Regions from separate parts of the Homo sapiens genome. Here region 1 is linked to region 2. Evidence: promoter capture Hi-C in 16 types of primary human blood cells and fetal thymus (Javierre and others, 2016). All regions are on one chromosome and are shown on one strand. Each heading gives the region's core, a stretch centred on a gene start or on the middle of the fragment in contact. The rest is flanking DNA. Distances are from core to core; before and after follow the strand shown.

The links. The method cuts DNA at HindIII sites, captures the fragments that hold promoters and counts their contacts. A CHiCAGO score of 5 or more calls a contact.
Region 1: a fragment that was not itself captured here is called in contact with the fragment with the promoter of HOMER2 in region 2 in 3 of 17 cell types (naive CD8 T cells, total CD4 T cells and total CD8 T cells); the score reaches 6.7 in naive CD8 T cells.

The regions. Positions count from the first base shown.
Region 1 is chr15:82,668,015-82,674,043 of GRCh38, reverse strand. The region is part of intron 14 of AP3B2 (adaptor related protein complex 3 subunit beta 2); the gene reads left to right. All of the region lies in intron 3 of CPEB1-AS1 (CPEB1 antisense RNA 1), which reads right to left. Among named protein-coding and RNA genes, the nearest start is that of CPEB1-AS1, 23 kb to the right of the region's middle. The HindIII fragment of the contact is 8,602 bases long and covers 1-6,029 here.
Region 2 is chr15:82,947,781-82,954,675 of GRCh38, reverse strand. HOMER2 (homer scaffold protein 2) reads left to right here and starts at 1,956. Exons shown (of 9, transcript NM_004839.4): 1 at 1,956-2,145. The coding sequence starts at 2,141. RefSeq lists an enhancer at 2,206-2,706. The HindIII fragment of the contact is 1,453 bases long and covers 1,318-2,770 here.

The DNA.
Region 1 (6,029 bases), core at 1,016-3,515, 280 kb after region 2:
GCCACAAAGGCATAACATGCAGGTGGCGGGGGATGGGGGGGTTGGTAATCAAAGTGGCTATTACATCCACCTGGATATAGACCCTGGGGAAACTGCCTAGCAGGTTAGTTTGCTTTTATGTGTCAGGTGAGATGTGTGGCAGGAGGGTCTGCCAGGGGCACAGTGGGATCTACAACCCTCCCATGTGACCGCCTTTACAGTGAATAGAAGATTCTGACAAATTTTGCAGAATTGCTTTTAAAAACGTAAACTTTTTTTAATATGCTAAAGGTAATACATGCTTATCATAGAACATTTGGAAAACTCAGAAAATTATAAGTTTAAACTATTAATAAGTCCACCATTTAGAAGACCACCATTAATTATATATTTCCTTATTTTTTATTCCTATATATAGTCATTCAGAAGTTGTACTTTTGTCTATTGTCCAATATTTTAAACTTTTCTGCTTCTTTTCAATGCTTTCATATTTAATACTTTTTTTTCCCCATTCACATTTCAATTAAACTTTTCACTTAGAATTTTCTCCAGGCTGGGTTCAGTGGCTCACACCTGTAATCCCAGCACTTTGGGAGCCCAAGGTGGGTGGGTCATTTGAGGTCATGAATTCAAGACCAGCCTGACCAACATGGCAAAACCCTGTCTCTACTAAAAGTACAAAAAAATTAGCTGGGTGTGGTGGTGCGCTGAAATCTCAGCTACTTGGGAGGCTGTGGCAGGAGAATTGCTTGAACCCAGGAGGTGGAGGTTACAGTGAGCTGAGATGGTACCACCACACTCCAGCCTGGGCCACAGAGCAAGATCCATCTCAAAAATAAATAAAAATTAAAAAGAATTTCCTCCAAATTTTTTTCTACTTTCACATTTTTAAATCAATTGTATTAGTTTTCTGCTACATAATAAATTACTATAAATTTGGTGGCTTCAAACAACACACGTTTATTTTCTCAGTGTCTATGGGTCGAGAATTCAGGTATGGCTTAGTTGGATCTTATGCAAGGCTACAACTGAGGTGTCAGCCAAGGCTGAGTTTTTATCTGGAGGCTGTACTGGGGAAAGGTCCACTTCCAAGTCACATGGTGCCACGATCCACTTCCTTGCAGTTGTAGGATTGTGGCCCTGGCTTCTTGCTGGCTGTCAGCTGGGGGCTGCCCTTGCCTTCTAGAGGCCGTCCTTAGCTCATTGCCATAGGGGCCTCCCAACACGGATGCTTAATTTCTCCAAAGCCACAAGGGAGAAAGTCTCTAGAGCCAGTCTGCTAGCAAGACCGTCTTCTTTTTATTTTTTAATTTTTATGGGTACATAGTAGGTGTATATATTTATGGGGTATGTGAGATATTTTGATACAGGCATATAATGCATAACAATCACATCAGGGAATGGGGTATCCATCCTCTCAAGCATTTATCTTTTGTGTTACAAACAATCAAATTACACTCTCTTAGTTATTTATAAATGTATAATAAATTATTGTTGACTGTAGTCACCCTGTTGTGCTGTCAAATACTAGATCTTACACATTCTATCTAACTATAATTTTGTACCCATTAACTATCCCCACTTCCCCCACCCACTACCCTTCTCAGCCTCTGGTAACCATTATTCTACTCTCCAACTCCATGAGCTCAATTCTTTTAATTTTTAGCCCTCACAAATAAGTGAGAACATGTGAAGTTTGTTTTTCTGTGCTTGGCTTATTTCACTTAAAATAATGACCTCTAGTTCTATCCATGTTGTTGCAAATGACAGGATCTCATTCTTTTTTATTCTTTTTTTATAGTACTGCATTGTGCATATGTACCGTATTTTCTTTATCTATTTGTCTGTTGATAGACACTTAAGTTGCTTTCAAATCTTGGCTATGGTGAACAGTGCTGCAATAAACGTAGGTGTGCAGATATAACTTCAATATGTTGATTTCCTTACTTTTGGGTATATACATAGCATTGGGATTGCTGGATCATATGGTAGCACTATTTTTAGTTTTTGTTTGTTTGTTTGAGATGGAGTCTTGCACTGTCACCCAGGCTGGAGTGCAATGGCATGATCTCAGCTCACTGCAACCTCCGCCTCCCAGGTTCAAACGATTCTCCTGCCTCAGCCTCCTGAGTAGCTGGGATTACAGGCGCCCGCCACCAAGTCTGGCTAATTTTCATATTTTTAGTAGAGATGGGGTTTCACCATGTTGGCCAGGCTGGTCTTGAACTCCTGGCCGCAAGTGATCTGCCCGACTCGGCCTCCCAAAGTGCTGGGATTACAGGCGTGAGCCACTGCACCTGGCCTATTTGTAGTGTTTTTTTTTGAGATGGTGTTTCACTCTTTTTTCCCAGGCTGGAGTGCAATGGCGTGATCTTGCCTCACTGCAACCTCTGCCTCCTGGGTGCAAGTGATTCTTCTTCTGCCTCAGCCTCCCAAGTAGCTGAGATTACAGGTGCCTGCCACCACGCCTAGCTAATTTTTTGTATTTTTAGTAGAGACAGGGTTTCACCATGTTGGCCAGGATGGTCTTGATCTCTTGACCTCGCGATCCACCCACCTCGGCCTCCCAAAGTGCTGGGATTACAGGTGTGAGCCACCGTGCCCGGCCTATGTTTAGTTTTTTAAGGAACCTCCAAACTGTTCTCCAGACATTTCCACTAACAGTGTACAAGGGTTGCCTTTTCTCCATGTTCTTGTCAGCATTTGTTATTGCCTATCTTTTGGATATAAGCCTACTTGGGGTGAGATGATATATCTTTTTTTGTTTTGTTTTGTTTTTTGAGACGGAGTCTTGCTCTGTCACCCAGGCTGGAGTGTGCAGTGGTGCGATCTTGGCTCACTGCAACCTCTGCCTCTGTGGTTCAAGTGATTCTCCTGCCTCAGCCTCCTGAGTAGCTGGGACTACAGGCGTGCGTCACCACGCCCCGTTAATTTCTGTACTTTTAGTAAAGATGGGGTTTCGCTGTGTTGGTCAGGCTGGTCTCAACTCCTGATCTCAGGTGATCCGCCTGCCTCAGCCTCCCAAAGTACTGGGATTACAGGCATGAGCCACCCGTGCCTGGCCTTTCATTGTAGTTTTGATTTGCATTTCTCTGATGCTCAATGATGTTGATCACCTTTTCATATACGTGTTTGCTATCTGTATGTCTTCTTTTGAGAAATGTCTATTCAGCTCTTTTGCCCATTTTTAAATTGGATTATTGAATTTTTTTTTCCTATTGAGTTATTTGATCTCCTTACGTATTCTGGTTATTAATCCCTTGTCAGATGGGTAGTTTGCAAATTTTTTCCTCCTATTCTGTGGCTTGTCTCTTTGTTGATTCCTTTGCTGTGCAGAACCTTTGTAACTTGATGTGATCCCATTTGTCTACTTTTGCTTTGGTTGCCCGTGCTTGTGGGGTATCACTCAAGAAATCTTTGCCCAGTACAATGTCCTGGAGAATTTCTCTAATGTTTTCTTTTATTAGTTTCATAGTTTGAAGTGTTAGATTTAAGTTTTTAATCCACTATGATTTGATTTTTGCATATGGTGAGAGATAGGGGTCTGGTTTTATTGTTCTGCATGTGGATATCCCGTTTTCCCAGCGCCATTTATTGAAGAGACTCTCCTTTCCCTAATGTATGTTCTTGATACCTTTGTCAAAAATGAATTCACGGCCAGGCGTGGTGGCTCATGCCTGTAATCCCAGCATCTTGGGAGGCCGAGGCTGGTGGATCACCTGAAGTCAGGAGTTCAAGAGCAGCCTGGCCAGCATGGCGAAACCCTGTCTCTACTAAAAATACAAAAATTAGCTGAGCGTGGTGGCGGGTGCCTGTAATCCCAGCTACTTGGGAGGCTGAGGCAGGAGAATTGCTTGAACCCGGGAGGCGGAGGTTGCAGTGAGCCAAGATCGCGCCACTGCACTCCAGCCTAGGGGACAAGAGCGAGACTTCATCTTCGTCCCCCCCCGCCAAAAAAAAAAAAGCCACTGATTTTTTTTTTTTTTTTTTTTTTTGGAGACGGAGTTTTGCTCTTGTTGCCCAGGCTGGAGTGCAATGGGTTTTTTTTTTTTTTTTTTTTTGAGATGGAGTTCTCACTCTGTTGCCCAGGCTCTGGACTGCAGTGACGCGATCTCCACTCACCACAACCTCTGCCTCCCGGGTTCAAGCAATTCTCCTGCCTCAGCCTCCCGAGTAGCTGGGATTACAGGCATGCACCACCATGCCCAGCTAATTTTGTATTTTTAGTAGAGACAGGGTTTCTCCATGTTGGTCAGACTGGTCTCGAACTCCTGACCTCAGGTATTCTGCCTGCCTCGGCCTCCCAAAGTGCTTGCTAGGATTACAGGTGTGAGCCACTGTGCCTGGACAATGCTACTGATTTTTTTTTTTTTTGAAACGGAGTCTTGCTCTGTCACCAGGCTGGAGTGCAGTGGCGCCATCTTGGCTCACTGCAACCTTCACCTCCCGGGTTCAAGCGGTTCTCCTGCCTCAGCCTCCTGAGTAGCTCGGACTACAGGTGTGCATCACCACATCCAGCTAATTTTTGTATTTTTAGTAGAGACAGGATTTCATCATGTTGGCCACGATGGTCTCAATCTCTTGATCTCACGATCTGCCTGCCTCGGCCTCCCAAAGTGCTGGGATTACAGGCATCAGCCACCGCACCTGGCCAATGCTACTGATTTTTATGTGGATTTTGTATCCTGCGACTTTACTGAATTTATTAGTTCTAATAGTTTTTTGGTGGAATCCTTAAGATTTTTTAAATATAAGATCATATCATCTGCAAACAAGGATAATTTGAATTCTTTTCCAATTTGGATACCCTTTATTTCTTTCTCCTGTCTGATTGCTCTAGATAGAACTTCCAATACAGAGTCTTCTTAATAAAACATAATCATAGGATCATATATAGTCATATACCACCTTTGCCATATCCTGTTGGTTAGAAGCAAGTCTCAGGTTTTGCCCATACCCAAGGTGAGGGATTGCACAAAGGCATGAACACCAGGAGGCAGCTACTGGTGGGGAAGACCTTAGAATCTGTCTGCCACATCCATCTAGAGCTTAAACTTACTCATGTGTAATGTGTGAATTGAGGATATATTTCAATTTTTTTTAACAGCCAGTTTTCTAAGCATGATTAGCAGGCATCTGCAAGGTAGCATGTATGTTGGCATAGGTTATGGAAAGGAAGTCAGTGTTTCCTGCTTAAAATTCCTCTCTGACAACTGGAGCCTGTTGGTGAGGGGGAGCCTTGTTCTGTTCTTGGCACACTGGAGTGTATCTCAGAGGCCTTCTTGAACAGCCTGTAATTCCTGCACATCCTGGCTAGATGAGGTGGGGGTCTTGGTGGTGCACACAGGATGCCACAATCCACAGGGAATGGCCCCTTGGGGTGGAGAAGGGTAATGAATTATTATAGGCAAATCCTGCAGTGTTGAGGTGGTGGGCCAGCCCCTTCCTGTGTTGGTTGTTAACATGCAGTTAAGGCTGTGGACAGATGGATCCAAATACCAAACAGTTCTTTCTAGAACTAGGCAAGGACTTGAAGGAGGGAGTCTGTGATCAGCCAGCTGGGAAATCTGTGGAGGAAGACATTGTCCAAACCAAAAGAGGGATCAGCAGCCTCTTGATAATTGACTATGTTGGTAAGGGCATCCACTAGCCCTGGCCATTTAGATGGTGTCTGGCCAAGAGAGGGGCAGGTTGGTGATGAAATCTGTTGTGATGGCATCTTATTTTCATATTTTTAAGTCTATTCTATTAGCGGTGCATGGGATTGGGATTGCTTATCTGTGACTATAACAGTATCGCAGGTGCTGCTTTGCTGGAAGGGACTGAGCTGAAGAGGGCCTGTGGGCCAGATTGGAGGTAGGAATGTGGAATCATAGTGGCTCTCTAGAGTGGTGTGGGGCAATTCTGCCAAAGCAGCTGCTCAGACTCTGGGTCAGCATCTGAGGGGCTTTGCCCCTTATGGACATCTGCTTGATGTCCCTGCCAGATTAGCTGGGTTAACCATGTCCAAGGCTACACGTAACAGTATGTCACCATAAACCTCAGGAAGA
Region 2 (6,895 bases), core at 707-3,206:
TATGTGCTGAAGTATGTACCAGGTTGCAGGTTGTAGTGTAAAATATATTTCTTACTGTGGATTGTAGTTTAAAAAAATGAAAAACTCGGCCAGGCACGGTGGCTCATGCCTGTAGTCCCAGCCCTTTGGGAGGCCGAGGCGGGTGGATCACGAGGTCAGGAGATCGAAACATGGTGAAACCCTGTCTCTACTAAAAATACAAAAAAAAAAAAAAACTGGGCGTGGTGGCATGCGCCTGCAGTCGCAGCTACTGGGGAGGCTGAGGCAGTAGAATCGCTTGAATCTGGGAGGTGGGGGTTGCAGTGAGCCGAGATCACGCCACTGCCACTGCACTCTAGCCTGGGTGAGCAGAGTGAGACTCCGTCTCAAAAAAAAAATAATAAAAATAAAATAAAAATGAAAAACTCTGATTTCAGTGGCTTGCCTTTGAAGTTATTCGAACACTTCAGAATCCTCAGGTATTACCTGATAAATGACTTGTTCAGTGTTCTACAAGCTCACTTTCCTGATATTGCTGATTACTATGCATGGAGGATTTGGAAACTCCCAAGATTATTTTATTTTTTACAAACTTATTTTGTATTTATTTATTTATTTTTTTGAGACAGTCTGGCTCTTTTCACCAGGCTAGAGTGCAGTGGCATGATCTCGGCTCGCTGCAACCCCTGCCTCCTGGGTTCAAGCGATTCTCCTGCATCAAGCCTCCCGAGTAGCTGGGAGTAGCTGGGACTACAGGAGCACGCCACCACACCCGGCTATTTATGTATTTAATTAATTAATTTATTTATTTTTTGAGACGGAGTCTCGCTCTGTTGCCCAGGCTGGAGTGCAGTGGTGCGATCTCGGCTCACTACAAGATCCGCCTTCCAGGTTCACGCGATTCTTGTGCGTCAGCCTCCGGAGTAGCTGGGACTACAGGCGCCTGTCTCCACGCCCGGCTAATTTTTTTTGTGTGTGTGTATTTTTAGTAGAGACGGGGTTTCACCGTGTTAGCCAGGATGGCCTCGATCTCCAGACCTCGTGATTCGCCCGCCTCGGCCTCCCAAAGTGCTGGGATTACAGGCGTGAGCCACCGCGCCCGACCTGTCCCTTGACTTTTTTACTGTCCTGAGATGCCAGGCTTATGTGGGCGGTGTGTTCCCAGCAGAAGATGATCCCGTGGAAGTCCCGGGGGATGAAGGTTAGGTTAGTCCCAGTGCCAGCCTTTGGTAGAAACTCAGGACCTGATAGGTAGAAAGGCGACGAAGAGAGCCTGCTCTTCTTCAAGTTCTACTTTTGCCATCCTAATTCCCCTCGCTCTAAGGATAAAACCAAGCTTGATGAAGCCGCCTTAAAACTGCCCCTTCAAGTGGGAGCCCTCATCTCATTTTTATCCAGGAAAGAGCCCAGAGCATCTGCCGCGGCCTGTAGGCTCTTCTCTGCCAGGCTGGCTTCCGAAATTTCACGGTGGCGGGTACCTTAAGGCCACTCGGCCGGGCAACTGGCAGGAAGATGAAGGTGGGCTTTAAGGAGGAGCACAGCTATGCCCATCTCAGACTCTGGAGACCCGAACGAACTCTAATCTGAATGTGTGACCTTGGGCAAATCACTTACCCTCCCCAGGCCTCGGTTCCCTTATCTGCAAAGTAAAGGTAGCCCTAAAGTCCCCGCCAGGTGTGAATGGGACTTTAAGTCCATCAGGCAGGATGTTGATGGCACTGCGCCAGGGCCCCGGGTCGGCGTGGGGCGGGGGCGCGCCAACGCGGGGCCGGCACCGAGGACTGGGTGGCCCGGGAGAAAAGCGGCGACTGCGCGGCTGCGCGGGGGACGGTGCACACAGTGCTGCGCCCCCCGCCTCTTGGCTCGCTGCCGCGGCCCGGGGGCCACGAGGTTACGTAAGGAGCCGGGCGGGGGTAGCGGCTGGGGAGGGCGGGGCGGGCACCGCCCCAGCGCGGCCGCCCAGCCCCCGCCCGCCCGCGCCTGGCGGCGGTGGCGGCAGTGGCAGCAGTGGCAGCCGCGCAGCCCCGCGGAATGGAGCGGCGCCGGGGCTGAGCCGGGCGCGCACGGGCCGCCGCATGTGCCGCGCGGGGAGCGGCTGCCGAGCGGGCGGAGAGCGAGCGCGAGAGGCCCCGTCGGAGCGGCCGCCGGAGCAGCGCCGGAGATGGGGTGAGTGAGCCCGCGCCGCGCGCTCTCCGCGCGCCCCTCCGGAGGGACTGCGGGGCCGCGGCTGGCGTAACCGGGCTCGGAGCCTCCCGGCGGGCCGGCCCCCGCCTCCCCAAGCCGGAGCGAGCGCACACTCTGCGCCCGGGAGTCTGGGGCCACCTGACCCGCGCCCTCCGCCGGGGCACGCGGACACCCAGCAGGGGCACCCTGGCCTGGGCGCGGAGCCCGTGGCCCTTCCCCTCCCATACAGCCCGGGCACGGGGGCACCTGACGGGGACCGGTGCCCTGGCCGGCCTCCTGCCTCGGCCATTCCGCGGTCTCTTCGCCCCTGGGCGCAGTCAACTCCAGGGCCTGTGTGAGTCTAAGCAGTTTGTCGTTCTCCACGTTTGGATTTATTACAAGCAAAATGGAAATCGAAGTTTTCCTGGAAATAATCAAATAATAATAAACCTCCAGCGTAGGAATAGTGGACTTTGGATCTGCTTTGAGATGCTGAAGATGATGGAAGTCTATAAGGAACCTAGGTGAGGCTTCAGTCTTTGAAACAACTGAGTAGATGCTCAGGAGGGAAGTTGAAATACTCTGTCGAAGTGACTAATGCTTCTGAGTATATAAAGTAATTTAAGCTTTCCCCTCGGCGTCTCTCTGAGCAGTAGGCTCTGTGAGTCTGGGAGCCACTGTGCTAATAGCACAATAACTCCTTACATCTGCTCACTCTATTTGGGCACACGTTGACGGTTTGCCATACGTATTCAGGGGACACTTATGTCCACTTTACAGATGAGGAAACTGAGGCACAAAGTGGTTCGGTGACTTCCCCCAGGCTGTGTAGTTGATGAGCATTTGTGTAGCAGGGGTGGCCTTGCCACTGCCTGACGTGGGCATGGAGGCGGGTAAGTGAACCAGAATTCCTAAATCTCTCTGTTCCCTGCTGCTGAACCCAGCATTCTTCCAACAGCCCTTCGCAGGACTCAAATGCTTCTGCTCCAAGGGTCTAGAGATCTTGCTTTCCTGTTTGGGATGGGTGGGGCCTGGGAAGGCAAGAGTGCAGTGGAAGGAGCAAGATTGTCCTGGTGCCCTGGCTCAGCCCCCCTGGGTCAGTGGCTTTCTTGCACCGTACTCCAGGTTAAGTTTCTGGAGTCATTTTGCCTGGTGAGTCTTAGCCATGGGAGCTGCAGAGTGTGTGAGGGGATCAGAGGCAGGCCAAGAGGAATTTTGAGGAATGGAAGTGTGAGGGCTGTGGGCCAACATGAACTGGACATGACAGAGGTGGGTGACAGAGAGGAGGAGGCGAGATGAGCAGCGAGGGCTGAAGAAGTGTGCTTACATTTAGGAGATTTCACATGAACAGCAACTGTGGGTGATTTTACCCAGAGGCACCCAAGTTGGCAGGCCGTATTTCTGTAACATTTCCAGTGAGTCCTCAGTGGACTGTGAAAAGGCTGATCTTTGAGCAGTGAGAGCCTTTGAGGTTCTCAGATTTCATACTTTAAAAAAATGTACAGGGAAAAAGGAGTTGGCAAATGTAAGGTCTCAGAATGGAAGATAAAAGGGATCCGGTAATTTTAACTCTCTTTCTGGCCCTCCCTCCCCCTGGCCAACACAAAACCAATCCACCGTACTTGTGTGATCAAAAACAAGTACTGAAACTCTGTGGTTGAGATCAAATAGTTCTGTGGAAATGAAAATGTTTACTCACTCATAAAACCTTAAAGAAAATGTCAAAAAATAATTTTTGTTTGTGGAGAAGCAGGGAGGAGACGCTTGGGGATTTTGTTTAAACACAGAATATGTCTTTCATGTAATTTTAACATCATTCGATAAATGTATATATTACTCACTTCTCGTAGATAAAGGCTGGTTTGTAACTCCTACCTACCTCTGCCATTTTTAATAGATCCATGTCTTCTATTATTTATGTGAAAATACAAGCCATGGTCGTAAATTGAGATGCAGCTAAGGGCTGGGGAAGCAATTCAGACAGGAGGGTGGAGGGAGCCGTTTTAACTGAAAATAGAACCAATGTCATCCTTTCTGAGAGTTGTGTAGGATGGAGGGGGAAGAACTTTTTGAAAGGGCAGCTAGTAGAAAACCTTGCTGCGATCCTACAGCTTCGTCATGGCTCTGCTGTGTAGACAGGACTAGGATTTAAGGGAAAAAAAAACAAACTATCTGAGTTTACCTCCCCCCAACTTGAGATGCTTCTCCTCCCTCAAATGTTCACTACCATTTTCCACTTCTCTTCTGCGAAGTGTTCTGTGTTAAGTGTGGCCTCTCCAGTGAGTTTGTGTTCTTACTCCCTAAGGCAACTATTTCATACCTATTCCCCTTTCCAGACCTCTCCCCTTCCTAGGCACACCCCGTGGCTTCCCTTTCAATTGACAAGATAGGCACCTTTGACCAAGGGAATGTCTTCATTTTGCCACCACCTAGTCTAGTATGCAGCTGCTGCTACCTTCTCCTACCTGCCTGCTGTGCTGGATGACCTGTCCCTCATCTCTTCCTACTAGGGGCCCCTTCTTCTGGGGTAGCCTCCATTCCATCCCTTCCTCCTCCCATCTTTTCAGAGATTGTCTCTCCTTCCTAACCACCTTTCTCTCCGGGGTCTTCTCCATCAGTATAGGAGCATACATCTGACCAACAGAACTTTCTGCACTGCTGGAAATGTTCTGTATCTGCGTGGCAGCCACCAGCACATGTGGTTATTGGACACTTGAAATGTGGTTGTTGAGACTGAGGACCTGAATTTTTAACTTAATCTAAATTTAAATAGCCACATGTAGCTAGTGGCCACCATATTGGATAGCATAGCTTTAGTTGCTCTCATCTTAAAAAGGAGATCTCCCTCCCTCCTACATCCCTCTCCTGTTTCACTTCTTTGCTCTTCTTCACCTGAAAACACCTCAGAAGATACATCCAAACCCACTGGCTCCATTCACTTTCTCCTGCCATTTGTTCACTCTCCATACTCTACAGTCTTGCTTCTGCCTCACCTCTGCACCAAAACTGCCAGGGTCTTGGGTGACCAGGGGGTTGCCAGATCTCAGCCTCACCTCACTTCACCTCTCTCAGCAGCATTCCTAACAAATGACCACTCCCTCTCCTCAAAACAACACCCCTCTCAGCTCCTCTGGCCCCACTGTTTCCTGCTTTTCTTCTTACTCCTAATCATGGGGTTGCCCAGGGACTGGTCCTGGTTCCTTTTCTCTGTCCACACTGTCTTCCTAGGTAATACTGTCCCACCTGCAACTCCTCCCCACCCTCCCATGGCTTCAAATGCCATCGATATGCCCATGATGCCCACACTTTAATTTCTAGCTCAGATCTTTCTTGGAGCTTCTGACTCTCGTCAATACATGGAGCTCTTGATATGCCTTCCAGCTCTCACCTGCCTTCCGTCTTCCCCATCCAAGTCAGTGGCCCTACCATGCACTCATTTGCCAAGAGTCATGTTTGAGTCCTCTTCCCAACCTCTCACATGCAGGCTATCAGTTTGTCCTGTGCATTCTACTTCCGGGATATATCTGGAGTGCATTCACCTCACCCCATAGCCATAGTTCCCACTCTAGCCACCATCACCTCTTTCCTAACAGGCCCCCCAGTATCCACTCTGGGTTGTCTGCAGTCCATTTTTCACACAGAAGCCTAAGTGACCAGCTTTTAAAATCATAAATCAGATCATGTCATTCCCCTTTTTAAATACCTCCCACTGACCAGGCGCTGGGCGCAGCTCCCCCTGCCATGCTGCTGTGCCCCTCACTGTGTTCTGCTAACATAGATCTCCTTTCCTTTTCTTGCCTTACCTGAGATCCTTGCACTTGCTGTTTCCCCTGCCTGGAATTCTCTTACCTTCCTCTTTCCTTTCAGACTTTGGCCTCAGGGTCACCCCTTCAGGGTCTTTCCTGCCATCCTGTCTAGAGCACCCACCTCCAGAACTATCTAACCCAGCCCCTTTTCTTTTTTCTTTTGTTGAGACAGAGTCTCCCTCTGTCACCCAGGCAGGAGTGCAGTGGCACGGTCTCTGCTCACTGCAACCTCTGCCTCCCAGGTTCAAGCGATTCTCATGCCTCAGCTTCCTGAGTAGCTGGTATTATAGGCATGTGCCATCACACCCAGCTAATTCTTTTTTTTTTTTTTTTTTTTGAGATGGAGTCTCTGTCTGTCGCCCAGGCTGGAGTGCAGTGGCGCGATCTTGGCTCACTGCAAGCTCCGCCTCCCGGGTTCACGCCATTCTCCTGCCTCAGCCTCCCGAATAGCTGGGACTACAGGCGCCCGCCACCACGCCCAGCTAATTTTTTGTATTTTTAGTAGAGACGGGGTTTCATCGTGTTAGCCAGGATGATCTCAATCTCCTGACCTCATGATTCGCCTGCCCCGGCCTCCCAAAGTGCTGGGATTACAGGCATCAGCCACCATGCCCGGCCACACCCAGCTAATTCTTTTGTATTTTTAGTAGAGATGGGGTTTTACCATGTTGGCCTGGCTGGTCTTGAACCCTTGGCCTCAAATGATCTGCCCACCTCAGCCTCCCAAAGTGCTGGGCCCCAGCCCTACCTTTGTTTCCTATAATTGCTCACCACAGCATGCCAGTAAGCATGCAGGTGTTATTTACTTATTTATAATCCGTCTTCCCCCAGTAGCATCCCAAAAGGATAGGACCTTATCTTTTTCACCAGTGTATTCCAACACCTAGCACAGTGCCTGGCACCAAATAGGCCTCCAGTAAATAATTTTTAATTGAGTTAATGCTTGA